Linked DNA regions of Homo sapiens: all the other regions are linked to region 2. The links are contacts of gene promoters, found by promoter capture Hi-C in blood cells and fetal thymus (Javierre and others, 2016). All regions are on one chromosome and are shown on one strand. Each heading gives the region's core, a stretch centred on a gene start or on the middle of the fragment in contact. The rest is flanking DNA. Distances are from core to core; before and after follow the strand shown.

What was found. The method cuts DNA at HindIII sites, captures the fragments that hold promoters and counts their contacts. A CHiCAGO score of 5 or more calls a contact.
Region 1: a fragment that was not itself captured here is called in contact with the fragment with the promoter of TFAM in region 2 in 16 of 17 cell types (monocytes, neutrophils, total CD4 T cells and 13 more); the score reaches 15.0 in monocytes.
Region 3: a contact is called between a fragment that was not itself captured here and the fragment with the promoter of TFAM in region 2, in 15 of 17 cell types (monocytes, activated CD4 T cells, non-activated CD4 T cells and 12 more). The highest score is 15.9, in monocytes.

Annotation. Positions count from the first base shown.
Region 1 is chr10:58,300,926-58,304,573 of GRCh38, reverse strand. No RefSeq gene overlaps it. Among named protein-coding and RNA genes, the nearest start is that of UBE2D1, 32 kb to the left of the region's middle. The HindIII fragment of the contact is 1,776 bases long and covers 806-2,581 here.
Region 2 is chr10:58,384,160-58,387,747 of GRCh38, reverse strand. It overlaps TFAM (transcription factor A, mitochondrial), which reads right to left and starts at 2,338. Exons shown (of 7, transcript NM_003201.3): 1 at 2,100-2,338; 2 at 1,410-1,528. The coding sequence starts at 2,200. RefSeq lists enhancers at 1,938-2,594, 2,788-2,887 and a silencer at 2,278-2,657. The HindIII fragment of the contact is 8,486 bases long and covers 1-3,588 here.
Region 3 is chr10:58,282,857-58,286,509 of GRCh38, reverse strand. All of the region lies in intron 2 of CISD1 (CDGSH iron sulfur domain 1), which reads right to left. Among named protein-coding and RNA genes, the nearest start is that of CISD1, 16 kb to the right of the region's middle. The HindIII fragment of the contact is 761 bases long and covers 2,012-2,772 here.

The DNA.
Region 1 (3,648 bases), core at 444-2,943, 83 kb after region 2:
TCGGCCAATGGCTCCCACAACTCAATACCTCCTTCTCTCTTCTCCCTTCATCCTCAGCCACTGATACACCCCTTATGACACATCTGAGCTTTAAACTCCTTAAGGGCAAGAATTATGTCTTACTGCACTTTCCCTCCTAGGGCCTACCAGAATTTCTGGCACATAACAGGTGCCCATTGACTCATTCATTCATTCAACATATGTTAGACAGCAGGGAAATATATAAGACTTTATAGCTTAAGTAAAAAGGTTTATAGTCATTGTAAAACTATTGACAAAAGCTATGCACAGTTCTAAGGGCCATAAGGAAGGGGCACCTAATTTACCTGACTGAAGGAGTAGGGATGGCTCTGCAGAGGAAGCAATATGCAGATTTACCCAGGAAAAAAAAAAAAAAAGACCAGCCTGGGCAACATGGTGAAACGCTGTCTCTACAAAAAAATACAAAAATTAGCTGAGTGTGATGGCACATGCCTGTAGTGCCAGCTCCTCATGAGGCTGAGGTGGGAGAACTGCTTGAACCCAAGAGGTTAAGTCTGCTGTGAACTCAAGATCACGCCACTGCACTCCAGCCTGAGTGACAGAGCAAGACTCTGTCAAGAAAGAAAAGAAAGAAGGAGAAAGAGAAAGAAAGAAAAGAAAGAAAGACAAAAGCAAAGAAAGAAAGAGAAAGAAAGAGAGACGTGGGGAGGTGTTGCAAGAAATTAGAGCAGCTTGGTGTGGGATCTAGATTAGATTGGAATAGCTGATTTCTAGGGTATGGGTTGCAGATGAAGGATGACAGTGCCAGAGGGGTAGTCAAGCTTGGTCTTGAAGAACTACACTGAATAACCTTGATCTACACTAGCATACTACGCAACCTAATGCCTCTTCTTTTCCCCAGTGGCTTCCCGCCCCCCATCCCCTACCCCCACAGCCCCTCTTAACTTCCTCTTATTCTTGGACTGGGCACATCTCATCTATTCTTTGTGTGCCAATTCAAGTGCCACTTTCTCTGGAAAGACAGTCAGTCTAACCACCCTGTAGCCCCCAAGAACAGAATTTGAATAGACTGAACAACTGTACTTTGCATATACTTTTATTTTAACACTAGTTATTCTGTTTTATAGGTATTATTATTAGTTTTCCTGCTAGGCTGGAATTGTTTTAAATTTTAAAAATTAATCTTTGTATCCAAAGCATCAGTATGATACCTTGTACTTGTTCCCTGAATGAATAGATACCTGCATATGAGTGTTTCGGAAATGCAAAAGGAGTAAGATTGTCAGTGATGTCAGAGGACAGAGAATTTGAAATGGACATTAAGAATAGGTAATGTTTAACATAAAAAAAGAATGAGAGAAGACATATGCAAATGGAATAGCATAAGCAAAGATACGGAGGCCAAAATGTGAAGGCAAATACTGCAGAATAATGAATAATGACAAGGGCTGAAACGTAAGGCAGGCATTAGGGAGTATTTAATGATAAGAAAGTTAAGTTAGGGCTATATTATGAAGGGCCTTGAATATCCAGTGAGGGGTTCAGATTTAATCCATTAGTTCATATGGACATTATTCATAAATGTTTATTTTCAGATTTTTAAAAAATTAAATAGAGTAATCAAAAGACAATGGGAAGACAAATGCAAATGTATCTACTTTGGATGTTTATTTGCGGATTGTCCAGGAATCGAAACGTGGGAGTTCTAGCTGTTTAAGAGCCCTTCTCTCTGAGGTCAGTTTACATCTCTGAGGTCATCATGTCTAATATAGGACTAGACATTACAGTGAATATTTAATCAGTATTATTGGCGTCCTGAATATTGATGGCTGCTTTGGTAGAAGGTTAGCTAGTAGTCCACTTTGAGAGGGAATAGAGTCCTTGAAAAATAATTGATGGAGAGTAAAAAGATTATGCCATGAAGTAATTGGGAAGTAAGCACTGGGAAGAACTGAAATTGAGAAGAGGAAAAATAATAATAATAAATAATAACATGGTGTCTTGGCACTTATTATGAACCAGACATTGTGCTACGTGCTTTAGGTATATTATCTGCCTTGTTCCTGACAACAGCCTTTTGAAGTAGCTATCACCTTTTGTATATTACACACACAGAGTCTGAGGTTCAGAGATTCAGAGGTTCATTTGCTGAGGGTCACACAGGTGATAAAGTGGGGTGGAGCCAAGATCTGCAGCCAGCTTTGTCTGATAATAGTCGTCTCAAAGAGTAGAAAGGTAGCAGAAAAAGAAGCAAAAGAAATGTTGTAACATCTCTCTCTTTTTTTAAATGTATAAAGGATGGAACAAAAAAAAGCAGAGAGATAAATTCTGCTGTACCTTGAGGAGGGGAAAAGGCAAAAGGAACTTCTGATAGGGTTGGGACATCTGCTTATTCCTCTAAGGTCACCGGAATTAAAAAGGACTGCCAGCAATGTCTCAGGGAAAAAAACACTTCATCAGAAATCTCTGCGAAGATTATCTGTTGCTAGGATTAATTTCCAAGTCAGCTGGTCCTCAGGGATTATATAGGTGAAACTTTGATGTGAAATCCCATTTTGCCTAGTTTTAGACAGACTGTGATGGAGTGTGATGTAAAGCTTATGGTTTATGTGTGAAGAAACATCTGAAGAAATAAGATCTGAAGAACAGTTTTTAAAGGACACAGGATTAAGCAGCAAGCTAAATATTTGTCTACATACATTATTATTCAGGAATAAAATTGTTGGAGATCATATGATTAGGTGGAAGACATATTGTGGTAAAGCAGCATAATATTATAATCCAGGGCAGATTTTTGATATGTGGACCTGAGAATATAAAGGTTTGGTGGCACTGTGACCAGTAAGTCCCAAAAAAAAAAAAAAACCACTCTGAAATCTGATATCCAGTTAGAGACTATTTTAGATGTTGTGGAAGCTGAAGTCTGTGTAATGAATAGAAGTCCAGAGAGCATGTCAATTTGGGTCAACTCATGCTTAAATGCCTCAGATAAGAAGGAAAGGGACCAATTCACATATAAAATCTATGCCAAATAGCCTGTTGTCTCTAGAGTCAGAATAGAACAAACAGGAGGAGGACAAAAAAATCAAAGGAAAGTAGACATTATCCATATCCTTGCAAAAGGTGTGTAGCCTGAAGGATCAGAGCTACATAAATAATAAAGAGATAAATAAGTGGGAGAAATTTGTAGGCTTCAGGAAAAAAAAATTAAGGGAAGATCTTCAAAAAAGAAGCATGGAGATAGAGGAAGGGACAGAAGAGAAAAAATGAATTAAAATGAGTTAGATTCACATTTGGTCATGATACAAGAGGTGATCTGTTGCTGCAGAAAGCATATAGGACTTCACGTCAACATTATATACCTTCTTTGTTAATGGCATGACCTTTGCAAGGCACCTAACTTTTCAGGCCATCTATAAAATAAGGACCAATAAACCCTACCAACTTTACAGATTTGCTGTGAAGATCAACTGAGATGATATATGAGAAGCATTTTAAAATCTCTATAAAACCCTATGCAGAAATAATAGTATTCATTAGCAGGCAGGTTCTTATAAAATCTAGTTTAAACTGATGGTGCAAGTGATTAAGTGGGGATGAAAATTGAATGGAATTTGCTTAGAAGGAAGGTTGTCATGGAATTCCATGTCACACTGAGCTCTGCTT
Region 2 (3,588 bases), core at 1,089-3,588:
ATGCTGCCCAGGCTGGCCTCAAACTCCTGAGTTCAAGCAATCCATCTGCCTCAGTCTCCCAAAGTGCTGGGATTACAGGCGCGAGCCACCACACCAGGCTGATTACTAGTTTAAGAAGCTGGATGATCAATTGCTTCAAGTTTTTTACTTCCCTTCCATATTTCAAGCAAAACACTTTTTCAAGTCTTTGAGGAATTCCTAAATTTATAAAAGCTAACAACAAAATACATTCTCGATCCATATAACACAGCCTCGTATTTCAATAACAGAAATATCATTTGGAAACAAGCTATTCGAAATTCAATCTGTTATTCTCCACTTCCTTCTTCATCTTAACCGGAATGATGGCGTGCAATTAATTGATTTTTAAAAATACCTGTTAGTACTAACTCTTACATTTAAAAGATGTGGGTACTTAAGCATGTCTCTGAAACTAACTCCTTACCTATAATGTGAGCTTTTTTTTAAAATTATTATTGTTTTTTGAGACAGGGTCTCGCTCTGTCACCCAGGCTGGAGTGCAGTGGAGCAGTCATGGCTCACTGCAGCCTCAACTTCCTGGGATCCAGTGATCCTCTCACCACAGCCTCCCAAGTAGCTGGGACTACAGGCACTGCGCCCCCATGCCCACCTCATTTTTGTATTTTTGGTAGAGACAGGATTTCCATGTTTCCCAGGCTGTTCTCGAACTCCTGGGCTCAAGCAATCCACCCATCTCGACCTCCCGAAGTGCTGGGATTACAGGTGTGAACCACCTCACCCAGCCTGATGTGAGCATTTTTTATTCTCGCCGAGAGGCTTTCTAGAGAGTCAACAAACATCCTACCTGGAAATGTTTTTTTTTTAGGAACCCAAGACAAGAAAGGATTTATCCTTTACAACCCACCATCCCCTTGGCAAGGTCGAGGTCTGAATCAAAGAACCAGAGTGGCTCTGAACTCCTATGATGAAAAGGTTTATCCTTTCTTATCTTGAAAGCTCTTGAAATTAGCAGTAAATTGCATAGAACTTTACAGTTCTACAGAACTTACAGTTTATGGATGCTTCCACAGAAGTTGCAACTTTATTAACAATTCCCTGAGCCAGAAAAAGGAGGAGCTAGGCAAGAGAAAATAATTCATCAGTGGTCCTCTAGACCAAAGGCAACAAGGCCCCAAATTCAGCTTTTTTATCCTCTTCCTAGGGTGCTTTCTACACTATACGTTATTTTTAAAATACCATTTACTAGTTCTCATTTATATTTAAAGCATTTCCATTTGGTATAAAATAGAACTTCCTATTTTACAGACATCAAATGATTGTTCCTGCAGTCACTGAATGCTTTAGCACTGCAATTCAACATTGGTATTTAACTGCTTAATGGCATTTTTATTACATGAGAAAAGGGTATATGCCCCAAAACTCCTTACCTGGGTTCTGAGCTTTAAATATGGGTAGTTGTTCTTTAGAAAATCGAAGGTAAGAACTTACAGGTTTCTTTGGACAACTTGCCAAGACAGATGAAAACCACCTCGGTAAATACACAAAACTACATATAAACAAAAAGAAAATAACCAGTGTCAGATGTTTAACTGTCAATATTCACATGTATATGAACACAGATCCCAAATAAGAAATGTCATCAAGATACTATGTATCCAACGCCTTCAACAAGAATGCTAGAGACTTATTAAAACCCTGTCCTAAACGGAGGGGAGCGTCTGCAGGACTGAAGTCTCAAAGCCCTTACCTCCTAGGAAGGGCAGGGAGTGAAGGAAAGCGTCTATACTCCAGCTCCTGGGCCCCGCCTCCTCAATGCCTAGATGATGGCCGGAGACTCGGCGCGAATTCGCAGAGGAGGCGGAAAGGATCCAAAGCTGGACAGTGAGGAGGGATGGGAGAAGCGAGTGGAGGGTAGCAAGAAGGTACGGCGTATTAAGAGAGTAAATAAAGGCCTGGTCTCAAGGCCACCGTCCCCTTGGCAAGGTCGCGGTCTGAATCAAAGAACCAGGGTGACTCTGAACTCCTAGGAGGGGCAGAAAGTGAAGGATAGGGTCTACATTCCAACCCCGGGACGTCCTGGGCCCTGCTGCCCCTAGGGCACAGGCAAGCGGGCCTACCTGAAGGGGGAGCGCAGTCGACTTCCACAGCCGGTGCACAGCTCTGCTCCAGACCTTCCCAGGGCACTCAGCACGCCCCACATGCTTCGGAGAAACGCCATCGCTCCGGTGGATGAGGCAGTGACCCGACCCCAATCTCGGAGAGCCTCCTGGCAATACACAACTCCAGCAATCACAACTGGAACCCGCGTGCGACCCTCCGGCGTGTGTTATCATGCCCGCCACTAGCGAGGCACTATGGGAAATCTGCTAACATCCGGTCGGTAGATGGGGGCGGGGCGGGGCGGAATTGGCGCAGGCGCGGGAGAGCGTACCCCGGTGGGCGGCCTTGCGGGGGAGGAATAAGAGCCGCGGAGATGAAGGGAAACCGCAATCCTCTAGCCTGCGGAGGGCTCTGGCTTCGAGGCGGCGCTGTTGAGCCACCTCTGTCCCCGGCCGCCCGGAGCAGTGGGTTCCTCTGCCGGGCCAGGAGGGTGATGGAGGGACCGCGGCGGCGGCCTCACCCCAACCCGGCGTTGGCCGGTGTCCGCCCGTGACGGTCACAAGGGCTGTACGTAACAGACAGTCCTGCATCCAGGACCCCGAGGTCCGATCGGCGGCTGCTGCGCGCCCAGCGGAGCGTCTCAGTTCAAGCCAGGGCTGGAGCTCGGAGTTCAGAAATAGTAACGGGAGAGGCGGGGATTCGCAAACCTAAAAATGCAGATTCCAAGGCCTTACCGCAGAGCTTAATTCCGTGTGTCTATGTGGGGCCCATTAATCTTCATTTTAGCGAGTTCCCCAGAATTTAACAAGTTCTAATGTCGGTGGTCTTGAGACCACATTTAAAGCAATATAGCTTTAGACTGTTTATTCTACCATCTACTGCAGTCTTTCAGTCTGGCCTCCAGCTTGCTTAATTTGAGCAGAGGAAACTGGCTAGTTGTCCACAGTCGCTAGTCTCAATTCTTCTAGTTCCAGTATTAACATTAACGTCTTGACTTGGGAATATTGCATTCCCTCGTTAAGATTCAGTTTCCCCCTCTGCAAACGAGGATGTTAGACTAAATCAGTTTTCCCAGCCAAAGCCCTGAGAACGTGTGACAAGTATGCCTTGAGACATTGATGTGTCAAAAATTGCTGTATAATTTTTTTATTTGTGTTATAGAAATACCATTTTCTGTATAGGCAATGGCATGAAAAAGATTAGGAAGACCTAAAGATACCTAAGGGTCCTTCCAGCCCTTAAATACCAGTTGTTTCAGAGCTAACCACCTTCTGAGACAGCCTTTCTTCTGTTGGATAGCCGTAATTGTTAGAAAATTCTTACCAGTGTCATATTGAGCTGACAGTCTATTTACCTTTCTGTAACTATGAAAACATTGGCTCTCTGGAAGTAGGACTAAGCCTACTTCTTCTTTTAAGCGGTAATAACCACTTCCCTTTTATAGACTCCCAGGGTTGAAAGGGACCTTCCAAGTCATCTGTTCAAACCTCCCATTCTGGCATGGAA
Region 3 (3,653 bases), core at 1,143-3,642, 100 kb after region 2:
GTGACTGGACTATGGACACTTTAAATTTTGATTTCTATTATCATAGTTTTCTGTAGAGCACACTTTGCAAACGCTGTTCTAAGATCCTGTTGCTTCAGCATTACTGGAGGCTATTGCTTCCCACATTATTACCTTTATTCGTAACTTTATCAAAATAAATTCTACATGTAAAAGCACCTATTTATAGGTTCTATGTTACGTTGATCGGCCTACTACGCTGGGATATTTGCATTTTAAACATTTCAGTGTTTTGTAGGGCTAGTTTTCCTTCATTGTTTCTTTTTTTTACTTTTTTTTTTTTTTTTGAAACGGAGTCTTGCTCTGTCGCCCAGGCTGGAATGCAGTGGCGCGATCTCGACTCACTGCAAGCTCCGCCTCCTGGGTTCACGCCATTCTCCTGCCTCAGACTCCTGAGTAGCTGGGACTACAGGCGCCCGCCACTACGCCCGGCTAATTTTTTGTATTTTTAGTAGAGACGGGGTTTCACCGTGTTAGCCAGGATGGTCTCGATCTCCTGACCTCGTGATCCGCCTGCCTCGGCCTCCCAAAGTGCTGGGATTACAGGTGTGAGCCACCGCGCCCAGCCTGTTAACTTTATTAAACTTTATCACTTTATTCCTCCAGATAAGCTTGAGAATGTTTTTTGCCAAGTTTTAATTTCTTTTGTAGTTTTCATCCTCAGATCTCATGTATATTCTGGTAAGATTATTTCTGTCATATTTTTAATCACTATTATAATTTATTTTCATATCTGAACATTCTTGCTATATAAAATCATTTTTAACAAGTATATCCTCTATTGTAAAATGAAAAAATAAGAATTTAATAATATTTCACTTAACTCTTCAGGATTTTACACTTAGAAGGAATAATTATCAGTAATTTTTTTGTTTCTCTATATTTGTATCTTTTATTTCTATTTCATGTCAAATGACAAGAGCTAGCATCTTTGCCTTAATCTTGGTGTTTTGAATGTATCTACACTCTAGAATCTAGAGTTTCACTGTTTAGTCTAAGGTACACTGTTGCTTTGAAGAAGCCTATTTAGAAGAGTAAAGTAAGAGGATTCTTAGCCTTATGAGTAACAAGTACCTCATTACGTGCAGTGAAGGGAGCATAACAGATCAGTGAAACTTCACAATGATGGTATTTAATCTTAAACTTTGATATCCAAAAGGCTACTTAATGTTAAAGTAATCAAATTTTAATCTATCTGTAAATAATTGCAAGAGGCACTAAATTAGCTAAAAATTACAGAAAAACTCAAGGTATTGGCATATCTTATATTTCCAGATATAAATTCTATCCTGTCGTAGAGGGCAGTGTAAATGTAATATATGTAAAGTTTATATTATTTCTTTTTTTGAGGTCAATAAGATGTGGTACACAGTATATTCATATTAGAAACAAGCCTTGATGCAAAAACATAAAGTCAAGCTTTCAGTTTTTTCTTGGCATGGATGAGGAAAGAGGCGATAAAAATTAAACTAAAATGTATCCCACAGCAAAGTACAGCATTTCAAAGTGACATATGTTTAATAAACAAACACAGATGATTTTACAGTGAGCATAAAAGTTTACATTGTAAAGACTCTTTTTATAAATAGCACACACAAAACACTTCACTATAAATTAAATCCATGCAGGCAACATTTCTGAAAAATGAAATATTTCTAAATAACTTACTGAAATGGCATGTTTAACTTTTATTTTTTAATCTTATGTTGAAAATATTAGAAACTAACATTTTCTCAAATTATTTTCCTCCATATACAGAATAGGAGAGAAATCTATAGAAAAAATATACAAAGAAAATCTTACAAAATATAAAGAAAGTCATATATCAAAAGTGAGAATACATTTTTTCTCATCACCCAATTCTGCCTAAAAACTGAAATTAGCCTGTTTCTTCATATTCTTAAAAGCAAACACATATTTCTTTAAAAAGCAATGAGTAGTTTATCCTGGTTATTTGTTAATAAACTTTCATGCGATTAAAGTGTATAAAGCTTTTATGCCTTTATAATGCAAACTAGGTGTTAAAAATAATTTTGTGCAGAGACGTATTTTTTAATAGTACTTTTTATATCACTTAACCCTAGGAATTACTGCCTTATGTGTCTTGCTTTATTTCTGATCTATGCAGGAGAAAGATAATATGTGGTGGGTATACAGTTTTTTTTTTTTTTAAGAGATTAAATTAGATTGCACAGTGGTGCAATCGCAGCTTACTGAAGCCTCAATCTCCCAGGCTCAAGGGATCCTTCCATCTCAGCCTCCTGAGTAGCTAGGACTATAGGTGCATGCCATCACACTCAACTAATTTCTGCATTTTTTTGTGGAGACAAGGTTTCACTACATTGGCTGTTACATTCTCAAAGTGTTGGAATTACAGGCCTAAGCGACTGTGTCTGGCATTATATACTTTCAAATACAATGTAGGAAGTACAGTAATTTTTACATTAAATAATGTACAAAAATATGAGAATTTTATTAACTTTTTCATTAAACATTTTGAAATTTGTTAAATTGTTTTAAATTATGAAAAAAACACAAAGAATATTAAATTCAGTTCGTGTAGTATTGATACTTAATTTATTCTAAGATGTCAGCGTTTGTTTATTAACAAATCCTGGAAAAAGTCTGTAAATCAAATTTCCTTTATGTCCAGAAAACATCCTTTTATGTTTGTTAACCCAATTTGAACACTACAAATCCCAAATATCTTTAAAAGTGGGGGAAGAAAGGGTTAGAAGAAGTTGGAATAAAGCTTTAGTAGAAAAAACAGTGGAGGTCCTTGCTCTCCACCTGGAAAGCTAGCAATGCTATATGGATCTTCATAAAAACACAACATTTCTTTTTAATGGCCCCACATCTCAAGTTATGCCTCTGTTTTAATAAATGCTCCTCTTTGACTTATCTCTTCCACCTGAAACAATTTTCTTTTAAAGACTATCTTCCTTCTCTGAACTTCGTACTTTGTATTAGAGTTTTGATTTTCTGTCCCAAGGAAGTTGCCTGGCACCATTTTGGCTCATTACCATAAACTGTCCAGAAAAATATGCTTGCTTTGGTTGAGAACGAAAACGAAGTAATGAGATTTTTGAGACTAACCTAGAGATTATGACATTTTATACCATTCTTATGTACCTATTTCAATAAACCTAAGACAGTAGCTATAATATGAAAATGTACAAAGATAAATTAAGATTTTTATAAGACTGTCTTTATGTGGATTGGCCAAGGAATGTCACCAACATTCAGAATATCGTTTTTATGAAGAAAGACTCAGTAAAATGCACTTCTAAGCCATTAACAGGATGGAGGATTTCTCTTTTTCCCCCAACACCCTCCCGCCAAAAAAAAACACCCAGGATCAAGCCTACTACCAACGACAAAACAAAAGTATCATTAACTCAAATCTTACCCTGTAAATGAAAGAAAATGAGTCTAAACATGTCCAGTTGCATTTCATTTCAATTTCAGTTCAGCTCCTGATGTTAACTGGTAAGACTTTCCTCTCTTTCTTCTTAGTCTGTATTCTTTTGCTGTCCTTGTTTGAACTGCCTCCTAGGTGGCCGTCATACAACTCAGCAAGTGATGTAACCAACCTGAAGTTGCAGGGAAAGGAACCTAGCAATACTACATCCCAT